Linked DNA regions of Homo sapiens: region 1 is linked to region 2. The links are contacts of gene promoters, found by promoter capture Hi-C in blood cells and fetal thymus (Javierre and others, 2016). All regions are on one chromosome and are shown on one strand. Each heading gives the region's core, a stretch centred on a gene start or on the middle of the fragment in contact. The rest is flanking DNA. Distances are from core to core; before and after follow the strand shown. Region 1 overlaps TERF1 (telomeric repeat binding factor 1). Region 2 holds the start of LACTB2 (lactamase beta 2).

The links. The method cuts DNA at HindIII sites, captures the fragments that hold promoters and counts their contacts. A CHiCAGO score of 5 or more calls a contact.
Region 1: a contact is called between a fragment that was not itself captured here and the fragment with the promoter of LACTB2 in region 2, in 1 of 17 cell types (naive CD8 T cells). The highest score is 5.0, in naive CD8 T cells.

Annotation. Positions count from the first base shown.
Region 1 is chr8:73,012,796-73,016,758 of GRCh38, reverse strand. TERF1 (telomeric repeat binding factor 1) reads right to left here. Exons shown (of 10, transcript NM_017489.3): 2 at 2,769-2,864. Among named protein-coding and RNA genes, the nearest start is that of TERF1, 5.9 kb to the right of the region's middle. The HindIII fragment of the contact is 4,417 bases long and covers 325-3,963 here.
Region 2 is chr8:70,667,219-70,671,217 of GRCh38, reverse strand. It overlaps LACTB2 (lactamase beta 2), which reads left to right and starts at 2,033. Exons shown (of 7, transcript NM_016027.3): 1 at 2,033-2,219. The coding sequence starts at 2,098. It overlaps XKR9 (XK related 9), which reads right to left and starts at 1,879. Exons shown (of 5, transcript NM_001011720.2): 1 at 1,680-1,879. The HindIII fragment of the contact is 8,354 bases long and covers 1-3,999 here.

The sequences.
Region 1 (3,963 bases), core at 1,284-3,783, 2.3 Mb before region 2:
GGACATGTGCTGAGTTCCACGGCAATGCAATAGGCTGCAGTGGAAAGGCACATTAAGTCTCCCAGAGTTTTGGGAGGCCTAGGCGGGAGGATCACTTAAGGCAAGGAGTTCAAGACCAGCCTGGACAACATGAGACCTCGTCTCTACAAAAAATTAAAAAATTAACTGGGCCTGATGGTGCACCTGTAGTCCTAGCTACTCAGGAGGCTGAGGCAGGAGGATCACTTGAGCTCAAGAGTTTGAGTCTGCAATAAACTATGATGGCACCACTGCATTCCAGCCTGGGCCAGAGAGACACCCTGGCTAAAAAAAAAAAAAAAAGCTTAAAGTTCCATAAGAGGAGGATGACAAGCATTTCCCCTTTAAGATATCTGCTGTATTTCAGAGCTACGTGGGGGTCTACAGCCACATCACCCCAAACATGTCCAATCTTGTCAAACCTATGTGGGGTAGGAGACTAAACCCAATATGGTAGCTACTAGCCATACATGATTACTGCACAGCTACTAGCCATACATGATTACTGCACAGCTAAAATATGGCTAGTTTGAATTGAGATGCACCTTAAGTATAAAGTACACATGAGATTTCAAAGACTTACTCCAAAAAAAGGTAAAATATCTCATTTGATTTTTTTTAAGAGATGGGGGCCTTGCTGTGCTGCCCAGGTTGGGGTGCAGTGGTGTGATCATAGCTCACTGCAGCCTTAAACTCGTGGGCTCAAGTGATCCACCCACCTCAGCCTCCCAGAGCTGGGATTACAGGTGTGAGCCATGTGCCTGGCCTTACTAACATTTTTTACACTGACTACTTGTTGACATAGTGTTTGAGAAATATTGAGTTAAATAAGATTATCAAAATTAATTCCACCTATTTTAATTATCATTATTATTTTTTAGCTACACCTGCTGGAATGGGAATTTCTAAATTTCATGACAGGATTTCATTCTGTCACTCAGGCTGAAGTGAAGTGGCACAATCACAGCTAACCACAGCCTCAACCTCCTGGGCTCAAACGATCCTACCTCAGTCTCCAGAGGACCACACGTGGTTAACTTTTTATTTTTATTTTTTTTTGTATTTTTAGTAGAGACGGGGTTTCACCACGTTAGCAAGGATGGTCTTTATTGCCTGGCCTCGTGATCCGCTCACCTCGGCCTCCCAAAGTGCTGGGATTACAGGCGTGAATCACCACGCCCAGCCAATTTTTTAAATTTTTTGTAGAGACAGGGTCTCGCTATGTTGCCTAGGCTGGTGTCAAATTCTTAGGCTCAAGCGATCCTCCTGTCTAGGCCTCCCAAAGTACTGGGATTACAGGTGTGAGTCACTATGCCTGGCCTACTTTTCTTAACATAGCTATTAGAAAATTTTAAATTAGACATGTGGCTCACATATCTCTATTAGGCAGTGCCACTATAGAGCAAAATTAAAAAAAAAAAAAAAAAAGCAAAAGGGTTATGTATAGCCAAAAATCCAATACATAAAATTTTAAATGCTGCCTCAGTTTAGTGCATTATGGTGAAATACATTGATTCTTGACAGCTGACCCTGGCCTATTATATCTAGGATATATCCAAAAGAGTATCCTGGTAAATTCCAAGATTAAACCATGAGATCACACATAAAATCTGGATTCCCCCCTGCCTTTTTTGGAGAAAAGGTTATCCAGGAAGCAACTAAGATGTGCTGAACAACTGCTATGTGTAAAGCACTGCCAGGCACTTTAGAATACTTTTCCACCTTAATGTAGAAAACAACCCTGTTAACAACAGTGTCAACTTATAGTCTGCATGGTCTGGAATTCTGCTCCAGCCTGCTACTTCTCCAGCAACTGGCCCAGGCCTACCTATGGCTCTGTCTCTTTCACAACTATTCTGCCTCTATCTAGTTCTATCCATTTATGGTCCTGGCACCAACTCCAGACCTACCCTCACCCCCCAAACAAAGCAGACTACATCAGCCAGAGATACTTTAGTGAAGGCCTTGACAGTGGTGCTAATACACTGGGATTTTATGTAAGACAACACTTCAATAAGCAAGCAGTTTTATGTAAGTACTGCCCACTACTCAGGATTGTTGGAAAAGTATTTTGTAAATTATAAAAACCAATCTAAATACAAAATTATTTCCATCAAATAGCCTTTTAAAATGACCATGTTGTAAATACCAGCCATTACTGATAAACTGAATCAGCCTTGCCCATTACAATCTAAAATGGAACTACAGAGACAAGGGAGAGAGATTACAGCTATAAACTGTACTTCTTACGTAAGCGCTGGCATCAAGTTCAAATAAAAGGTTTCAAATATAATAGTTGCCAGTAAAAACAGAGTGTGTATGATTGGAGTCACCACAAAGTTAGCAAATAGAGTCAATGAAACACACTTCCCCAAGAGTAGCATCAGAATCACCTGGGAATTTATTAGAAATGTATATTTCAGAGCCCCATACCCATCCTACTGAATCTGAAACTCATGAGAGTTAGGGAGACTCAGCACTATGTTTTTTTTTTTTTAATAAGCCCTTTAAGTAATTCTGGAGCAGGCTAAAGTTTGAGAACCAATGTTCTAAGATGACAGGGACTACATTTCTTTTACTTGCTTTAGATATGACTGTATGTGTACACACACACACACACCACCCCCCCACACCCCTATGCACCAGACACTTGTAGGCAAACTTCCCCCAAAAACGTCTGTTTCTTCCCATTGTCTTACATTAGAAACAGATTGAAATATTTCCAATATAAAATAAAAAAACATATTTACCAAGGGTTTTTCCTGCTGCAATTCTTGTCAAAAACTGACATATGTATATCGTTCTCAACTGGCAAGCTGTTAGACTGGATAGTCCATGAATAATAGCTAAAAAAGAAAAAAAGTAAATTTTATTAAAATCAAACTTGATCCAGTAGTGCCACTGTGTGGTTTGTTGAGTAATAGGCTACAAACATATTGTAAAAATTATCATAAATTTAGAGTTGTACATTTAAGATCTGATTAAAATTCAGAACAAAAAAAAAGAATAGCAATGAAGACATTTCTTACAAAATATAACTTTCACATGTAGAATAAAAATTGTTGAAAATTCTTTCACAAGTAGCAGTCTACATTAACAAAAAAGATTTAGATACAAATTGTAAAATGTGTAAAATCATTGGTTGGAAACTTATACCTAGAAACATTTCATATAATAGAAAATATTTTATATTATTTCTATCTAGGTTTCAGTTAAGTGAGTCTGTTTAGCTTACAAAGTTTAAAACCTATTAATATTAACCTCCCCAAACTTGAATGCCCACCCAGATGTTGAGTCAGGCAGTGATTACATACAATACCAAGTAAGCCATACTCCTGGACCACAGTGAGCTTTTTACCATGTAGCAATGAGACAAGCGATTGAACTACTGAAGTAAAAATGTTGTGAAAACTTTAAAAAGACAAGTACAGAATGCTTTGGAAGCATATAACAAGAAATCTGTGTGTTTAAGTATCTTCTGCACAGAGGAGGTGTCAGGGAAGGCTTCTCTGAGGAAATAATGTCTAACCTAAGACCTGAAGGTGCCACTACTACCATTATACCTAACCCAGGGCTTGGTTGGTGTATATATAAAAAACTTAAATAACTAGCAAACTGAAAAGCAATTCTGTAGCAATTAAGCATATAAGACGAATATATTTTTACCCAATTTCCTCCCTCAATTCTAACATAATCTTATGCTACACCAGAGATTATCTGGACCATACACAGTCATAATAGAATTTAACAGGATTTTAAGAGAGCACAAAATTTATATAGAATTTAAACACAAGCCATTCAATATTTACTGAACATCTACTGCCAGCCTGTGTTAGGAGGTGATGACTTCAGATAGCCAGTCTCTGCCCCCATGAAGGTTTTAATCTGAGAAGACACAATTAAACAAAAAGTTATGTAAGTAACTAATTAAAATTTTAATGAGTA
Region 2 (3,999 bases), core at 784-3,283:
AAAGTTTATCTCAGCCAGGCATGGTGGCTCAAGCCTGCAATCCTAGCACTTTGGGAGACCAAAGCAGGAGGATCACCTGAATCGCTTGAGTTCAAGAGTTCAAGGTTACAGTGAGCTATGATAGTGCCACTGCACTGCAGCCCGGGTGAAAGCCAGACCCTGTAAGTAAATAAGTAAGTTAAGTAAGGAAATTAATTAAGCCAAAGAATAAAAGAAGGGGAGTGCCCAGATTCTCAGGAATCTGGTCCAGAAATTACTGTTCCATCCTCTTCTCCAGGGTTCACTGACTTTCCAGCAGAGTTCTTAAAAAGGGAAGATGTGCAAAGCCTCCTGCCTGAATAGCCATTAATTGATGGCTATCATAAATACATATTGACAGATTGAAATGCCTGATGTAGGAGATTTGGTTACTTTAAGTATTTTTTGAAGGGTATACTGTTTAACTTCCCATTGCAACAGGGGATAACTTATATGATTATTTCAGCGATGATTTTTTGAATATTTTTCCATTAAAAGTACAACTGTGTGAAACAAGGCAAAGACATTTCTCACACACAAAGCAGATGTCATTAGCCACTCTGATACACTATGCTGCTGATTCATAAAATAGGTAAGAGCAGATCGTTTTCTTCATCAGAAATATCTGGAAAAAAAAAAGCCACCAAGCACTGTATGTGTCAATTTCTCACCTTTTTTTAAAAAAAAAAAGAGTGGGCTGCTACAGTGGATATGTTCTACATCTCTTTGGGGCAGTGATTACATACAATTGTCATAACTCGATGGAACTGTCTACAGGATCTGTGTATTTTCTTTTAAGTAATTTATAACTCAACTTTTTTTATGGGAAGCTGTAGTTAACACTGGATAGTTAATACTTGGCTGATAAGAAACCGACTTGTTACAGAGAAAATGAGTCCCTTCCATCTTGGGCACAAAACGGCTCCACAAGACCAGCCTAGCTCTCTGGGCAGGCAGGTAACACTGGCAGGCAGAGGCATGCTCCTTGAATCTCACTGAGGGGGACAAGTGTTAGTGCGAGGCAGGTAGGAGCAAGGCCGCACACGCAGACTCTGTCATCTGGGCAGCTGCCCAATCCCCGTTTTTCATTTGTAACAAAAATAGTGTCCACCTCTTAATAATGTTCTGAGGATTAAGGGCGTTAAGTCGGATGTTTGTTGAAAGCACTTAGGCATAGTAGGAAGTACTAAGTAAATATGTCTTACCACTATTTATTATAAAAGATGAACAGGCTGGCCCGGCGTGGTAGCTCACGCCTGTAATCCCAGCACTTTGGGAGGCCGAGGCGGGCGGATCACGAGGTCAGGAGATCAAGACCTTCCTGGCTAACACAATGAAACCCGGTCTCTACTAAAAATACAAAAAATTAGCCGGGCGTGGTGGCGGACGCCTATAGTCCCAGCTACTCGGGAGGCCGAGGCAGGAGGATGGCGTGAACCCGGGAGGCGGGGCTTGCAGTGAGCCGAGATCGCGCCACTGCACTCCAGCCTGGGCGACAGACCGAGACTTCGTCTCAAAAAAAAAAAAAAAAAAAATGAACAGGCTACTACTACTACTACTACACACACACACACACACACACACACACACACAGAGCCACTGCCTAAAAATCTGGCAATCCTTCCTGACATTTATTACTGAATAACGAACGGTTACCAAACCTGTCTCCCAAATCACAAGACTCTTCCAGATTAAAATGTCTCTCGCCCACTTGGATCCACTCGCCTGTCTAGGACACAAACCCGTGAGGCACCAGCCCCCGTGACAGAGGCAGATTCCAGCTTCGCCTCACGCCACCTCACGCCTCGCGCCAGCCTTCCCACCACTGCCCGCGCAGCCCGCGCGGCGTCACGTGACCTCTAGTTCCGCACCGCCCCCCCCACCCCCCGGCCTAGCTGCCGGATCCCCGCCCCGGCTCGTCCGCGGTGTCACATGACACCTGGACCAGCCGCTGGCCAATCCCCTCCCTCCCGGGTTGCGAGGCATCACGTGGACGCTACTCGCTATCCCCGGCCTGTTGGCTTCTTCCGCGCTGGAGTATCCAGATAGGCGACACGCCGGCGGGCGGCTGAGGCGGGAATGGCTGCTGTACTGCAGCGCGTCGAGCGGCTGTCCAATCGAGTCGTGCGTGTGTTGGGCTGTAACCCGGGTCCCATGACCCTCCAAGGCACCAACACCTACCTAGTGGGGACCGGCCCCAGGTAAACGTCCCTCTCCAACCTCCCCAACGTTCGCAGCCGGCCCCGGAGCCCGGGCTTTGACTGATCGCGGCTGCGCGGGCAGTGGAGAGCGCCGCGTCCTGTCCCTAGCTGGGCAGCCCCGCGCCTAGCAGCCCCGTCGGGACTGCACGCAGACACTCGGATCTCGAAGCTAGCTAAAATACGACCACCCCAGGTGATAGCTCTCTAATTTAGGGAGAAATGGAAAAAAAAAAAAAAAAAAAAAAAAAAACTTCTGTTTTGAAACCCGATTTACTGTTCTTGATGTTTGAATGCCAGGGTGTGCGTGTTTAAACTGTTGAGAAAATTCGGATGTCAAGAGTCCAAGAAAGCGTTTACTTTGCTCACTTGACTTTCACTGGTGTTTTGCCCAGAGTGTAACTTCCCTTCTCAAAAGCGATTAATTATGTTGAGGCGATTTCCTCAACTCAGCAGCAGAGGGCAGGATTCTCCTGGCTTCCAAATTGGTTCTCTGCAGCCTGTGGGCTCATAAGAGGAGCTGACATAAGTAATTTGGGGAAGTTTTTTGTTACAATTGTGTGTGACCTTGTTTGAGTTTAATTTGCAGACACAGTAACACACCTGTATTTCTAAGAAGATACTTTTGCTCTTGTTTAGCTGCATTCTGTTTTAGTGGAATTATGCAGGAATGGGAGATTTGGTTTACTGCATAGTAAGTCTTAGGCATTTAGCAACTTTTGTAGTCTTTACTGGATGAACCCAGATAATGTAGTTTCTCTTGAGCATAGAATTTAATTGTGCAGTCAAGACATAAATTATTTTTAAAATATAATTGATTACTAAAAACGATTTAGTAAGTACAGTTAATTGAGTTTTCCTTGGAAGTGTCTACTGTTTGGCGTTTTTCCAGTAAATAAGAATTTTAGAAGCAGCAGACCTGCAAAGTGGGCAGGTAAAAGATTAAGTTCAGAGTAAATAAGGCAGGGTCAGGTAGTTACCAAAGGTTTAGGCTGCCACCAGAATCTAGGAGGATAGAGAATTAAGCAGGAAAAATGCCAGATCTCTAGGGTACAGTCTGTCTTGGCTGGAAGTCCCTCAACCAAGTAAATCCATAGGCGGTCTCTCTACAGTGTGTCATCTTGAACTAGTCAATACCTCAGACAAAAGATGCATATTATCAGAATTACCCTGGAAAGTCTCTTAGAAGAACACCATGTTGGAGATCAGTGTATTGTCTCAGTAAGTTCAGCACAACCTGCCTTTTTTCCAGCGTTGAAACAGATGGCTGATTCTGTTTGAAAACCAGGTGAAGAAATTGGCTTGTGTTGAGGGGCTATATTGTATGAAAAATACATACTGTATCTTTAAACACTATAATCACACTCAACATAGCAAAGTGCTAGTGCTAAGAGAGACTTAAAGACTAACTGAGGGAAAAGCAGATTTATAGTCTCTCGTCTTAAATTACTTAACACTGTTGCTCACATAAATTAATGGAGTGGAATGGCCAGTGGAATTACTTGCACTATGTAAATTATTTCTCCATATAGTTGAACTAGAGAGTCCGTATAGTTGAGCTAGAAATAAGTGTAGATAATGCTACTGTATAAAGTAAAAGGTGTAAAGTAAAAGGTGGCTAGAAGTTAATATTAATTGGCCCCTTGTCAGATGTTCTGAGATTGGTATCCACCTGTTCCGCTTCACAAAACAGTTCTAAGATCACAAGCGGCTTTTGTATCACTAACCCCAATGGTATTTTTCTGTTCTCATCTTCCTTGAACTTCAGTGCTTTGACACCATT